Regions from separate parts of the Homo sapiens genome. Here region 1 is linked to region 2. Evidence: promoter capture Hi-C in 16 types of primary human blood cells and fetal thymus (Javierre and others, 2016). All regions are on one chromosome and are shown on one strand. The core of a region is centred on a gene start or on the middle of the fragment in contact, and the rest is flanking DNA. Distances in the headings are between cores, read along the strand shown.

Region 1 (6,719 bases), core at 182-2,681, 240 kb after region 2:
CATGTGCAAAGGTCCTGAGGTGGAAGCATGATTGGGGAATGGCAAGGAGACCAATGTGGTTGGAGCAGAGTGGTTGGGATGGGGGAGGGATAGGACATATGATCAGAAAGGTGATGGGATCAGAACACATACGGTGTTGTAAAGAATATAAACTCCATAGAAAGCCACGTGAAGCTTTTCATAACCCAGTCCCTTCCTCCTTCAGCCTTCTCTCATACAGTTCCTCCTCCAGTCCCTTCCATCACACTCCTCACCTTTTACTCCACAGTCTGTCTGCCCTATAGCTAGTTAGGTAGGATGCCTGTTTTTCTCTCTGCCTGGCCAAGCCCTCTTCCTCTTCAAAGATCAGCCTAGACATACCTTGTCTGGGAAACTATATCCCTGACATCCTCAGGTTACATGGAGCACTCCTACCTGTGATTTCATAGTGCCCTGAAGCTAGATCCTGTAAGAGCCCTTAGTGTTCCAAATTGTAATTTTCTGTCAAGGTTGGTCATTTTTGTGTTCCCACCTCCAATGCAATGAGTGGCTCATAACAGACACTGAAATGTTTTAACGAGTGATCTGGCCCCCTCTGACCTCTCCTAACCAGAGGGGCAGATGTCCTGGTGTGTTCTTCTTTTGCCCTGAGCACCAGTTAAGTTGGAGTCCTTCTTATGTCTTAAACATCTATGCCTGGCTCTTGGTTTGAGCTGAGTGTATCAGGGTATCACCCAGGGCAGAATGGCAAATTTTTGCCAAATAAATTTAATAAGGAGGACCGAGGCTACTATATTAATAAATCATTACAGACTTCTCTTCTTGCTATGTGCTTTTTCCAGATTTTGTATTCTCATCAGCATGTGATCTTGTTATGACTACATGAATCAGCTAAGGTTGGAGTCTTCATGTATTTCAGCAAAAGTGCCAGGAGGGTGCCTATGGGAGGATGGAACAGCTCATTCGTCGCTGGAGAAGGTGGGATTAAAATTGGCACACACTTTCCAGAGGGTATCTTTCTCTAACTGTATTCTTAGATCTTAAAATTTTTCATACCTTTTGACCCAAGAACTTCATTTCTAGAAATTATCCTCAAAAACAAATCAGAAATATTTGTACAAGAATATTCAATGCTCAACTAACATTTACATTGAAAACTTGGAGGAAGCCTAAGTGTCTAACAGTAAGTTCCTGGTTAAATAAAATATGATGCACCTATATGATAAACTACATATATCATTAAAAATAATTTTGTAGAACTCAAATGATACAAGGAAATACACACAAGACAATGCTAAGTGATAAAAATGGAAAACAGTTTGATCTCAGTTTTACCAAAAAATAAAAAAAGACCAGAAGGAAACACCTCACAACATTAAAAGTGTTGCTGAGTTATGTTATTACAGGGGAAGTTTTGTTTTTATTTTTATTGTATTTTTCTAACTTTTCTATAATAAACAAGTATTACTTTTATTAGAGTGATTTTAATATTAATTATGAAATATTTCAAATATTCAAATATGCAGAAAAAAATTAACACATGCATTAGTTTTCTACTCACACACACACAAAAATTAATCCCAGATTGATTATGGTACATAAATATGAAAAACAAAATGGAGAAACTTTGATAACAAAATATAAAAGACCCTGTATGTGAAAAATCATTTTAAATGGTCCATTTTCAAGGCATGATAATTCTAAGTACTGGCAACCAGCCTGCAAATGTAATAAACCACATGGCTCATGCACCTAGAAAGTCACAATAAATGAACAGAATGTAGAGGAGGGGTCAGCCCATAAAAGGGAAGAAAGTTTCATTATTGGGAAATGGAAACTTAATCAGGGAAGGGGACCAGAGTATAACCTTATAAAGGGGATAATGAAACTTAGGCAATATCTGGAAAGATTGTAACCCCATAGTACTCAACCAATGAGGAACTGGGGGAGGGACTTGCATGCTAGGAGATAAATTACCTGCTGTAACTGCCCCGGGTATGCCTGCCTACCAGACACCTGATCTTGCAAGACTGCCATTAAAAGTCTCGCTTCTGCTGTTCTTCCTATCTCCAAGTATCTTCCTTGAGTTTGGATGGGAGAATATGTTTCTTACAAACTTGGGAATCCATCCGGGATCTCTGTGTTTGCATGGAGTGGGACTCTGGCCAAGAGGGGAGATGCAGCCCACTCAATTTAGGAGGCCCACTCTGTCCGGGTGTCCCAGCTCCCCATAGAGGCCTTAGACAAATCTGAGACTGTTATTCAGGAGGCAACAGAGGCAACACAGGGAAAAAAGCAGGCACCACAACAACCAGGTAACCTGGTGCACAAGCCAAGGTAGGAGAATTGGACTATAAGTACTGCCTTGGTGGTTGGACATTTTCGGAGGTTGAGCATGTGTGACTGAGATGTATCCTAGATACAAAGCGAGTGCAGAGTCCCAATCCGCAGTTCCGTTCTCCTGCAAGTAATTCTCAGGGTGTGCAAGAAACCTCCAGGAGGGAGTGTTGAGTACACAGGGAAACGCTCAGACACAGAGACTGACTGAAAATGGGAAACAGAAATTCTAGGCCTAGGGGACAAAGGAAAGAGGGAGCTAAAGACTCCCTCTGACATTCCCATGGATAGTCCTTTGGGGAGAATGCTACAGGTTTTGAGGGACAACCCTTGAACCAGGGACAAGGAAAAGCAAAAGATAATAAAGCTTTGCTGTTTTATCTGGCCCAAAGACTCCATTCATAATCCTTCAGTCTTTTGGCCTAAGTTTGGTTCAGACAAGTGTTGGGTGTGCTGAGCTTTAATTCTCTATGTAAATAATAAAACCCCATCCTCACAAGAAGAGATAGGTTATGCTGTCTGCCAGATCAAGGAATTAGTTCCCATGTTCCCCCTCAAGAAAGGAGAAAAAGAGCCTAGTAAAAGCTCTGGGACCCCCCTATCATGCTTGCCTCCTCCATACGTCTCACAAAATAGGGGACAGGAAGATCAAGGGGCAACAAAGGGATTAGGGGAAGATTAGAAACCATGGGGGAGCCAAACCATCTACTTCTTTAAATCCTTATCCAAATCTAAGAAAACAATTACAACAGTGTAAGAGGACTACTGAGAACTTCCCTATCCCTTCCGCACAGCAAGCATCTAGCATGTTCCCTCTTAGGGAAGTTTCCATGGGACTGGGAGAGCTTGGCTTTGTAAATCCTCCTCTTATAAGTACTGATGTTAGGAATTTCAAGAAGGAAATGAAACCACTCCTAGAAGATCCCCTCGGTTTAGCAGACCAGCTGGACCAATTCCTAGACCCAGCTTTTACACCTGGGCCGAAATGATGTCTATTATGAATATCCTGTTCACAGGAGAAGAAAGGGGAATAATTAGGAGAGTGACCATAACCAACTGGGAGAGGCAACACCCTCCCAGGCAAGAAGTCTTGCCAGCCAAACAAAAATTTCCAAATGTCAATCCCGAATGGGATAATAATGATCCCAGGCACCAGGCCTGAATGCAAGACTTCAGGGAACTAATAATTAAAGGGATCAAAGAGTCCACTCCTAGGACACAAAATGTTTCAAAGGCATTCAAGATTCAACAAGAAAAAGGAAGAAACTCCCTCTGCATTCCTACAGAGGCTCAAAGATCAGATGAGAAAACACTCTGGATTCTATCCAGAGGACCCATTAGGGCAAGGCCTTTTGAAGGTCTTTGTAACTAAGAGCTGGCCTAACATTATAAAACAATTACAAAAGATCGATGGATGGAATGAGAAACAACCAGGAAAAGTAGTTTGCAGAAAACAATATCCCATTTCTATTGAAGGGAGAAAAGGTCTCCAAGCAGTAATAAAATGATAAAAGATGGACTATTAGAACCCTGCAGGTCACCATACAATATTCCAATTCTCCCAGTCAAAATATCTGGTGGGTCATATAAATTGTTGCAAAATCTAAGGGCTGTAAATCAAATTGTCCAGACCCACCACCCTAGGGTGCCTAAACCCTACACCCTCCTTAGTAAGATACCCTATAAACATAAGTGGTTCAGTGTGGTGGATCCAAAAGACACATTCTGGGCATTTCCCCTAGACTTTAGGAGTAGGGACCTCTTTGCCTTTGAATGGGAAATTCCTATAACTGGGAGAAAACAACAGTACCACCAAACTGTGCTGCCACAAGTTTTCACAGAAGCCTCAAACTTAATTGAAAAAGTCTTAGAAAAAGTCCTGAAGGAATTCCAACCTTCCGAGGGAACCCAGATGTTACAACATGTAAATAATCTTTTAATTTCTGGGGAGAGGAGGCCCGAGGAATCAAAAACCACCCTAAACTTGCTTAATTTCCTAGGAAAAAGGGGATTACGAGTCTCTAAGAACAAATTGCCATTTGTAAAAAAAAGAAGTTAAATATTTAGGAGACCTGATTAGTGAAGGGAAGTAGAAAATAAACCCAAAGAAAATATCGAGGATAGTGGCTCTGCCTTTGCCTTAGACAAAGAGAAACCTCCAAAAATTTTTAGGTTTAACTGGCTATTGTAGGTTATGGATGAACTCATATGCTCAAAAGACAGAGATTCTGTATCTCAAGTTACTAAAGAGGAACCCAATCCCTTGCAATGGTCCCCAAAGGAAATTCAGGCAGTAAAAGAGCTAAAGCAGGCCCTCATCACAGCCCCGGCCCTGGCCCTTCTGTCTTTAAAGAAACTATTCCATCTGTTCGTCACAGTAGATCAGGGCATGGCCCTTGGAGTGCTCACTCAAATCTGGGGAGGGAAGAGGCAACCTGTTGCTTTTGTCTCCAAGCTTCTCAATCCTGTCTCTCAGGGGTGGCCTGAATGTGTGCAAGCAGTAGCTGCCACAGCCCTGCTGGTAGAAAAGAGTTGAAAACTAACCTTTGGTGGGGCCCTAATAGTAAGCATTCCATACCAGGTCAGGAATGTATCAAATTGAAAAGCCGGGAGATAGTTAACGGATTCTCAGTTTCTAAAATATGACGCCATATTACTAGAAAAAGATGATTTGGTTGTAACCACAAATGCTTGCCTGAATCCAGCCAGTTTCCTATGGAAAGGAGAGGAGAACAAAGAGATATCAGACTGTAACTGTTAGATATCATAGAATACCAAACCAAAGTTAAATCAGACCTCAGGGAAGCTCCACTACATGATGGGACAAGGCTGTTTGTGGATGGGTCATCCCAATGATAGATGGCAAGAAAAATAATGGTTATGCTGTCCTTAATGAAAATAAACACTCCTTATGTGAGAAGGGTAGATTACCTAATGGCTGGTGGGCCCAAACTTGTGAATTATATGCTCTTAACCAGGCCCTAAAACTCAAAGGCCAAAAAGGCACCATACATACTGATTCTAAATATGCTTATGGGGTGGTACACATTTTTAGAAAAATCTGAACAAAGCAGGCCCTAATAAATAGCAGGGGAAAATAATTGGTGCATGGGGAACTGGCCAAACAGGTTGTAAAAAGCCTCCTGCTTCCAGCAAAGTAGCCATAGTTTATGTAAATGGTCATCAGAAAGGGAACACTATAGAAGCTGCAGGAAACAGGCTTGCAGATAAAGCTGCTAAGCAAGCCTCCCTGGAGGAAGATATTATACTATTTAGCTGGATCCCAGACATTCCTAAGGTAGTATTAAGGCCCCAGTTTACCAGAGAGGAGAAGGAAGAATTAGACAGACTAGGGGTCACTTAAACTAAAAATAAGAAATGAGTACTTCCTGATGGGAGAGAAACAATCAGTAAACCCTGATGAGAGAACTAATGTCTATATTACACAAAGGGAGTCACTGGGGACCTCAGGCTCTCCGTGATGCAATACTACAGGAATTTTACCCTCACTAAACAAGTATGTGGAAGTTGTGTAATTTGTCAAAGGATAAACAAAAAGGTAATTAGAAAACAGCCCATGGGAGGAAAACCTCCCAGACTAAGACCATTTCAAAGCATTCAAGTAGATTTCACAGAAATGCCCAAAGTAGGAAAACTAAAGTATTTACTGGTGATCACAGATTACCTTTCTGGCTGGGTGGAAGCCTTCCCCCTTCCCACAGCCACCACCAAGAATGTGGTCAAAATAATATTAAAACAGATTGTGCGTAGATTTGGCCTGGTGGAAAATACTGATTCAAACAATGGGAGCCACTTTACCTCAAGGATGTTAAGGGGAATTATGTAAGGTTTACAAATTAGATGGGATTATCACACCTCGTAATGTCCCCCTTCCTCTGGAAAGGTAGAAAGAATGAATCAAACTCTCAAAAAGCATATCACCAAACTAATCTTAGAAACAAAAATGTCTTGGACTAAATGTCTCCCAATACACTGCTTAGGATTACAACAGCCCCAAGAAAAGACTTAGGATTGTTCCCCTATGAGTTATTACATGGGGTCCCATATTTAGGCAGAGCTACAAATCTCCCTACTATGGAAACCAAGGATCAATTCTTAAGAAATTACATACTGGCCACATCCTCCACCCTGTCATCCCTCAGGTTAAAAGGACTTCTGACTCAAACTCTACCTCTTAAATTCGCAGTTCACCACTTCCAGCCTGGCGACTTGGTGCTGATCAAGACTTGAAAAGAAGACAAGCTCCACCCAAGCTGGGAAGGTCCCTATCAAGTGCTCCTGACCACTGAGATGGCCGCGCAAACAGCTGAACAGGGGTGGACTCACTATACTCAAGTCAAGGGACTGGTAACAGAGACCCCAGAAGAGAGAGGAAAAAGACC
Region 2 (7,545 bases), core at 603-3,102:
CATTGCCCTGGGTTGCTTCTCCTTCTGAAAATTAGGAGCCAGTTTTTGGAGCCAAACAAACCTGGATTTGAATCCTTATAGGCAGTGTAATCTGGGGCCAATTACTCCTTCAAGTGCCGATTTCTTTATGCATAAAATATTAACTATGCTGAGTTGCTGTGAAGATCAATGGAGTAAGGACTTAGGACAGCATCTGACACAGAGAAATGCCCTGTATTATTATCATGTCATTTGAGTTCCACCTCATAGATGCCTCTCAGATTCATCCCCTCTGCACTGCTTTCAACTGTCACTTTCTTGCTTCACACACTCCTCACTCCTGGCTTTGTTGTAGTCTTTCCTTTGCTCATGGCTCATCTCAAGCCATGTTCCCTCTCAACCTATCTTCTCTTAAGTTGAAATTGAATAGTCACTCTTAGCTTAAAACCTCCAGTAGCCCTATGACTTATATGTGGTGGGCTTCAAAGATAATGTCCAGACTGCCCAGCACAACATCTTTTCTGAGTTTGCCTCTTTTCAGCCTCACCTCCAGTCCCTTCTCCAATCCCAAATCCTGTGCTTCAGTCACAGCCATCTTCTCTTCATTTTCCCTAAACTCACCATTTCCTTCATGCTTCAGTGGTTTTGCAGGTCCTTGCCCCTCTGCCCAAAATGATTGGTGAGCTTCTATTCACCCTTCAATACCTCCTGCTCAAATCCCCCTTCTCTGTGAAGCCTAATCTGTATCCTCTGTCATATTACTCTTATCACATAACACTGCATGCATCTAGATAAGCACTTATTATGTTATCTGCTACACACAGCATGTTCCTCAAGATCAAGGACTGGATTATGCTTCTATTTTCAGCTCTTATGATAGTACCTGGCTAAAGGAGGCACCAATAAATGTTCACTGAATGAGTACATAAAACTCTTTATAATAAGAACTATAAGCCCTAACATCATCAGGACTTGATTCTCAAGAATTTTTTTTCTGGCAGTGACTGTGAATTTCTTTTCCACCCACCTGTATACTTTATCCTTCCATTTCTCTTGCAATTGACACTTTTCACAAGTCTTGTATTTCATATCACTGAGCCAGATTCTTGAAATCTGGAGAAGCTAAATAAGACCTCTGATCAAAGTTGGAAAAAAATGCATCTGCCTAAAGAATCACAACTGTGGTCATTAATTGAGTGCTCCTGAAGCTCAGATGCTATGTTAAATGCTGTGCACACATTACTTAATTTCATTTTTACAACTGGCTAGCATGTAGCTTCTACTACAGTGAACAATGAGCAAGATGCCTGAAATGTGCTGTCCTAGGTGTCATTTCAAGTGTCAGAACATGTCACCCAGAACTGATAGAAATCTATCTTTCAGAAAATAAATTCCTTACTTCTGCCTCTGTGGATCTCCTGAGTTGAGGCAAGGGACACATTTTGGTTCAGAGCTTGGATGGTCCTATATTTAGACTAACAGTTCCAGCTCTTTAACGTCCTTGGGTGCTCAGAGGGGCAGAGTGAGCCCCTGGGTGTGTGGACTGGTGACTGAGCAGAGTGGCTGTCCTGGCCTCGCTTGCTGCCCACTCTCCCCCATCACCTGCTGCACGCTGCTCTTCCTCAGGGTTTCTCTAACATCTCCTGGTGCACATGCCATCCCCACCCCTGCCTCTCATCTTGATCATTCCCCCCAAGTGTGCAGGCTTTGCAGTTCCCCAGGGTGTACCCAGACCCGGCATTTCCAGCTTTGAGGTGCGTTGAGCCTATGAATCAGAAAGTAATGGAAAAAATGCCTACAACTCACCAGCTTGTGGCTTGTCTCAGGCAGTCCTGGTATGTCAGGCTTCTCAGCAACTGAACCAAACAGATCTAGAGGTAGAAACTTGGCATGCAGAAGTAGGAAATAAAGTTTCCTGCAGAAAGTGAAGGCGGAGATACAGGGCAACTAATGGTAAAGATTTGAAAAAAAAAATCAGAAAAATATAGTTCTTCTTTTCCAGTCAGGAACATTGTACATTGGGTTGAGGTCTCCAGAATAGGATTAATTTTGAAATCTTGCTTATGCAACCTTGAGTGTGAGTCAGGCAAACCCTGTACATCTGCTCCTGTTTCTAACGACTCTGAGCTTCTTTATCTTGTGGGTCTTTATACCTGGAACATTTCCACTCTCTGCTCTCCTACTAGTGATAATTTGCATGATATGAGCACAACAGAATGTTTCATGTTCCAGAGAATAAAGGGTATTGGTGATAGTGGAGGAAGTATAATGAGGTTTTACTGCGATCATGTGTGCTGGTTTCAGTGGTATCATGGATTCAGAATCTGGTTAGAAATTTCATTTAGATAAGACTTTAAAATTTTTTTTTATTTAATTCACATAATAATTGTATATATTTATGGGACACAATGTGATGTTTTGCTACATGTATACATTGTGCAATGATCAAATCAGGGTAATTACATATCCATCCTCTGAAACATTTATCATTTCTTTTGAAATAATAATGATATTGAAAACCCTCTCTTCTAGCTATTTATATATACAGAATTCATTATTAACTACCGTCACCCTACTTGGAGCAGAGCACCAGCACTTGTTTCTCCTATCTCATGGTAACTTTGTACCCGTTGATCAACTGCTGCCCATTCTCACCTCCTCTCTTTCCTCCCCAGTCTCTGGTAACCACTGCTCTACTGTCTTTTTCTAAGATAGCAACTTTTTTTTTTTTTTTAAATTGGGTTTCATTCTGTCACCCAGACCGGAGTGCACTGGCACAGTCTCAGCTCACTGCTACCTCCACCTTCTGAGTTCAAGCCATCCTCCCACCTCAGCCTCCTGAGTAGCTAGGATTACAGGTGTGTGCCATCATGCCCGGCTAAGCAACTTATTTAAAAAAAAATTCCACATAAGAGTGAGATCACGTGGTATTTGTCTATCTGTGTGTGGCTTATTTCACTTAACATCCTCTAGGTTCATCCACATTATCACAAATTACAGGATTTCAAACTTTTTAATGAAAAGGAAATGCTAAATTATCTCTTGTGTCAGGAACGTCCTTAGCAAGAAGAACCTCAGTTATTTTAAATGCCCCTCCTTGGAAAGACGTTTTGTTAAAAGATAATGTAAATTTTGCAATGGGGACATCAGACTAGGAGCATTCCTAAGATTGTGCAGAGAACATGGTGTCATCTAAGTTGGCCCCTGGCACTTTCTGGAATCCAGCAGACACCGGAGGCAGGATCTCATGCTGTGGACTTGGCAAGTTTCTAAGTTTCCATTTCCCAAATATGAAATATGAATAACAAGACTGGGGGTCTATGAGGGTAAATGGACCTAAAGCAGCTAGAGCAGGGTCTGGCAGGCACTCCACAGGTAACAAACAGAACAGAACAGTCTGAGCCCTGCAGAGTGCCAGAGGTTGAAGGATGCATCCACTGCTAGAGCCAACAACAATCAAATGCTCAGGGCAGTCCAGGTGTCCTTTCCAGATTTCAAGAAGTTGGCTTTTTTGCTGTTGTTGTTGTTGTTGTTGTTGTTGTGTTATGTTGTGTTTTTGCTTTCTTTTGCGACAAGATCTTGCTCTGTTGCCTAGGCTGGAGTGCGGTGGCATGATCATGCTTCACTGCAGTCTCAACCTCAAGCAATCCTCTCATCTCAGCCTCCCAAGTAGCTGAGACTACAGGTGCATGCCACCATGCCTGACTATTTTTTGTAGAGATGGGGTTTTGTCATGTTGCCCGGGCTGGTCTCGAACTCCTGGGCTCAGGCAATCTGCCTGCCTCAGCCTCCTGAAGGGCTGGGATTACAGGTGTGAGCTCCTACACCCAGCCCAGATTTCAGTCAGTTGTAACCATGTGTCCTGTGTAAGACCTGGTATATGTGCTAAGTAAGACCTGAGACTTGAAGGGTCTCAGGTTTTTTCTTGGAAGACAGCTCATTGCCTGTTCAGGAACATAGCAAGTTCCCCAGTTGTCTCTCAATGTGTCTCTGGGCCGGAATTGGAGCATATCTCTGAGATTTCAATAATAAGACAGGTCATCCCTGACCTGGTAACACTGAGCTTGCTGCCACTTCTGGAATCTCCTGACCCTGGCATCTTGCCACCTGTTCCTATGATTCAACCCAGGATGGGGAAGAGCAAGAGCCAGAAATTTTGCTCTGGCTGATTAGGACCGCTCTCCAATTTTGTCTTCACATTGTGATCTTTGTCTCCAGCCCTGTAATTTCATAAACAAGGAGAGGCACAGAGGTAGATAGTTGCAGAGCCAGGATTCAAACCTTTGGCTTATACTGACACAGAGGGCAGGATAACAGAGGGCACCCTCCGCTGAGATTTTGAAGAGACAGTATAGAATGAAAATATTTTTGGAGGGGTGAGCAGGCTTAAAAGAAGCAACAGGGATGGTGAGGTGGTCTGTCATCCCTATGCTTTGTGGGAGACCAGAATTTGACACCCTAAAATGTACCTCTTTTGCATAAGGATTGTTGAGCTGAAGGCAATTAAGAAGCAGATGAAGGAAAGCTCTTTTCCCTCCCTTTATTTGTCTAAAAGCAGGATATAGACTTACAAAGACAAAACGGATCTGCACCCCCCTCCACACCTTCTGCCAGGGTGAACAAAGGTTCACCACTGAAGACAAATTTAAATCCTTGTGGACCTGGAGATGGCACCAGAGGAATCTTCATTAACAAGTATTACTAACCAGCCTTTACCTCCATTTATTCCTTTTGCCTTCCTACAAGTCACTGTCCCTAGAGGCTCAAAGTTCATTTTCTTTGTCTTGTCATATCTCTAAAATGTTACTGAACTTTGTTGAAGATGCTATATGAGCTGGAATTCAAAGTCACCTTTTTAAGAATTATTCATTCCCTGGATAGCTCCTATGTACGTATAAAATATGTACGTTAATAAACTTTTCTCGTGTTAATCTGTCTTTTGTTACAGGGGTCCATTCCAAGAACTTATGAGCATTGAGGAAAAAATTATTTTTTTCTTCCTTAACAGCTAGAAGGATCAAAAGAATAAACAATACCACTTGAGTGCTACAGACAGCTGGAATTGAGAGCTGCAGGTTGATGGCTCAGCCACTGCTAGAAGTTCAGCAAAGCAGTAGGACAGCAGGGGCAGAAAGTATCCTAACCTCCTTCTCCCACTCTGACCTCCTACCAGTGCTTCCCAGTGACTGAACCAGATGGGAAGAGGGAATAATGGACAGTCTAGGCAATGTAGCCCCTAAAATCAGCATCCTGGGACTCAGAGTGGATCTGGGGGAGTGTGGCAAATAACCACACAACCGTCAAGTCAAACAAATTTTTTTCTTGCAACTTTCTTCTTACCTCGTCCATATATTAATAGATAGTTAGAAAATTGGGAATCTTGATCAGTACATCTTAGAATTCTTTATGCACACGGAGAGAGTTAAAAAGGATGTTTTTTCATGAGTTTGAGAATTCTGTATCTACCCATTGGCACTGGGTTCATGGTTTCTAAGGTTCCCAGTCTCAATGATGAGTATGGCCCTTCGAGCAGGCTTGAAGGAAAGTATGTCACAAGCCACTGAGCTCTGATGTGCCTGCTGACCAAGCAGGATTACATAGAAGGCAGGGCTGTGGTCACCTCAAGGTGACATGGGGCAAGGAAGAGGAGAAGCTCAATTTTTCTGCAAGCCAATGATATGAGAATAGTTTATGCTCCCCAAATAACAAAAGAAGACCCAGAATGCTGGCCCTAAGATGTTTAAGATCTTGTTTATTTTTACACTCAAGGTCAGCAGTTGAGTTGGGGATTAGGCCATTGAAACTGAAAGTTAGAGTTGTACTCAGAACCTCTCTGCCACTCCATGGATGGCAAGAACATGTGAGAGAAAGCATAGCTAGAGAGAATTGGTGGTGGGGCAAGAAGACAGAAAAGGTTTTTCAACAGCCTGAAGTACTTTAACGATGCCCTTAGCAATTTCCTAAGTAATGGGCAATAGATTTGTTCAGTTAGTGCCTTTAGAAAATAGAGAAATTCTTGCCTCTTGTCAACACAGATGCTTTTGGTTCATTGCGGTTTTTATGGTTTGCATGCTTCCTGTGACCTACTAAAATAGATTAGTGAGTTCTAGGATTTTACATCTTCAATTCTGGTTAAACATGATCTGGACCAATATGATGCCCACAGAAAAAGCAGTAATTATGTTCCTACCTATCCTGGTCAAGTCTTCATAATAAAAATGAAGCAAACTATTACCACTGTTTTTGTCACAAATGAAAAAGTAACACAACAGGGCATAGAGTCACAGCAAGAAAGCCCAGCAACTGCAAATGATTCTTGGAAAGGAAGTGTCAACTAGCAGAGGGCAGATAAGAATTTCTCCTCCATCTTCTAAGTTCAACTTTGTCTCCAGATGAACCAGGAGTAGACAAGAATGTATGATTAGAAATAGAAATTAAAAGAACAAAATGGTAATTTTGACTTAGAGTGTAAATGCAGCAGATTAGATGTCATACCTTTAGGCCAAACAAACTGTAGGAGAAAAAAGGGGAAATCAGAATCTTTAATACATGTACTTGCTAAAAAGCTGTCTCAAGTGACGGAAAGAAATTCATTTGAACCCTATAGTAGGAATTCTTTTGTAGCCTAGATGTTTTAAATGTCTCTGTGATTAAGATCTCAGTATAGATGCCTCAGAGGTAGCCTGCTCTAGGGAGGAATCTGTGGCTGGGGATAGGCCAAGACAGGTATTTAGAAGGCATTTATAGATGTCCCCAAGACTTGGCAACAGCAGGTTGGGAGCCGAGTCTGGGAGTGAGAAGCTAAGATTCATACTCCCCACCAGCATATTCCCTGACACTAAGCTTGGTGAGTAGAAGGAGCAATAGAGGGAGTACTTGCAGGAAGAAGTTTAATGAATATCATTGTGGCTTCTGAGGTGTCCCAGGGAGGGGCACCATGCTATAGAAAACATCAGGAAACCCAGACTGTGCTCATTGTTGGTACAGATGGCATGAGAGGAAACCCACAGAGCTGATGTGGCAGAGGTTCTGATTGGTGAACATGATTAGACTTACCCTGGGTGGGCATGAGTGATGGAGACAATGAGATGGACCCTGACCTACCATGACTGATTGGAGTTGAGCCCAACTGATGGTGACTTTTGCGGGGACCATAAACCTCTGATGGTGGGAAAGAATAAGTGTGTGGAGGACAACTCCTTTGTAATGCAACTTAGGTGTATATATTTCTATTTAAAAAGTAATGCATGCTGAAAGCAAAAGTTGACTCTTTAAAAGATCAACAAAGTTGACAAACCTTTAGCTATGCTAAGACAGAAGAAGAAGACAAAAAGAATACAGAGAAGACACAAATAACTAAGATCAGGTAAGGTGGGGACATTATCAACTTTACAAAAATTAAAAGATTATAAGATAATACTATGAAAAAATGCACACCAATAAATTAAATAACCTAGATTAAATGAACAAATTTCTAAAATACATAAATTGCTAAAAAGTTACTCAAGAAGAAATAGAAAATCTGAAAAGATCTGTAAAAATTAAAGAGATCAAATTGGTAATCAG

Evidence for each region. The method cuts DNA at HindIII sites, captures the fragments that hold promoters and counts their contacts. A CHiCAGO score of 5 or more calls a contact.
Region 1: a fragment that was not itself captured here is called in contact with the fragment with the promoter of CCR2 in region 2 in 1 of 17 cell types (monocytes); the score reaches 5.2 in monocytes.

Annotation. Positions count from the first base shown.
Region 1 is chr3:46,113,588-46,120,306 of GRCh38, reverse strand. No RefSeq gene overlaps it. Among named protein-coding and RNA genes, the nearest start is that of XCR1, 89 kb to the right of the region's middle. The HindIII fragment of the contact is 2,509 bases long and covers 177-2,685 here.
Region 2 is chr3:46,348,418-46,355,962 of GRCh38, reverse strand. It overlaps CCR2 (C-C motif chemokine receptor 2), which reads right to left and starts at 1,852. Exons shown (of 2, transcript NM_001123396.4): 1 at 1,786-1,852. RefSeq lists an enhancer at 5,586-5,735. The HindIII fragment of the contact is 10,451 bases long and covers 1-6,824 here.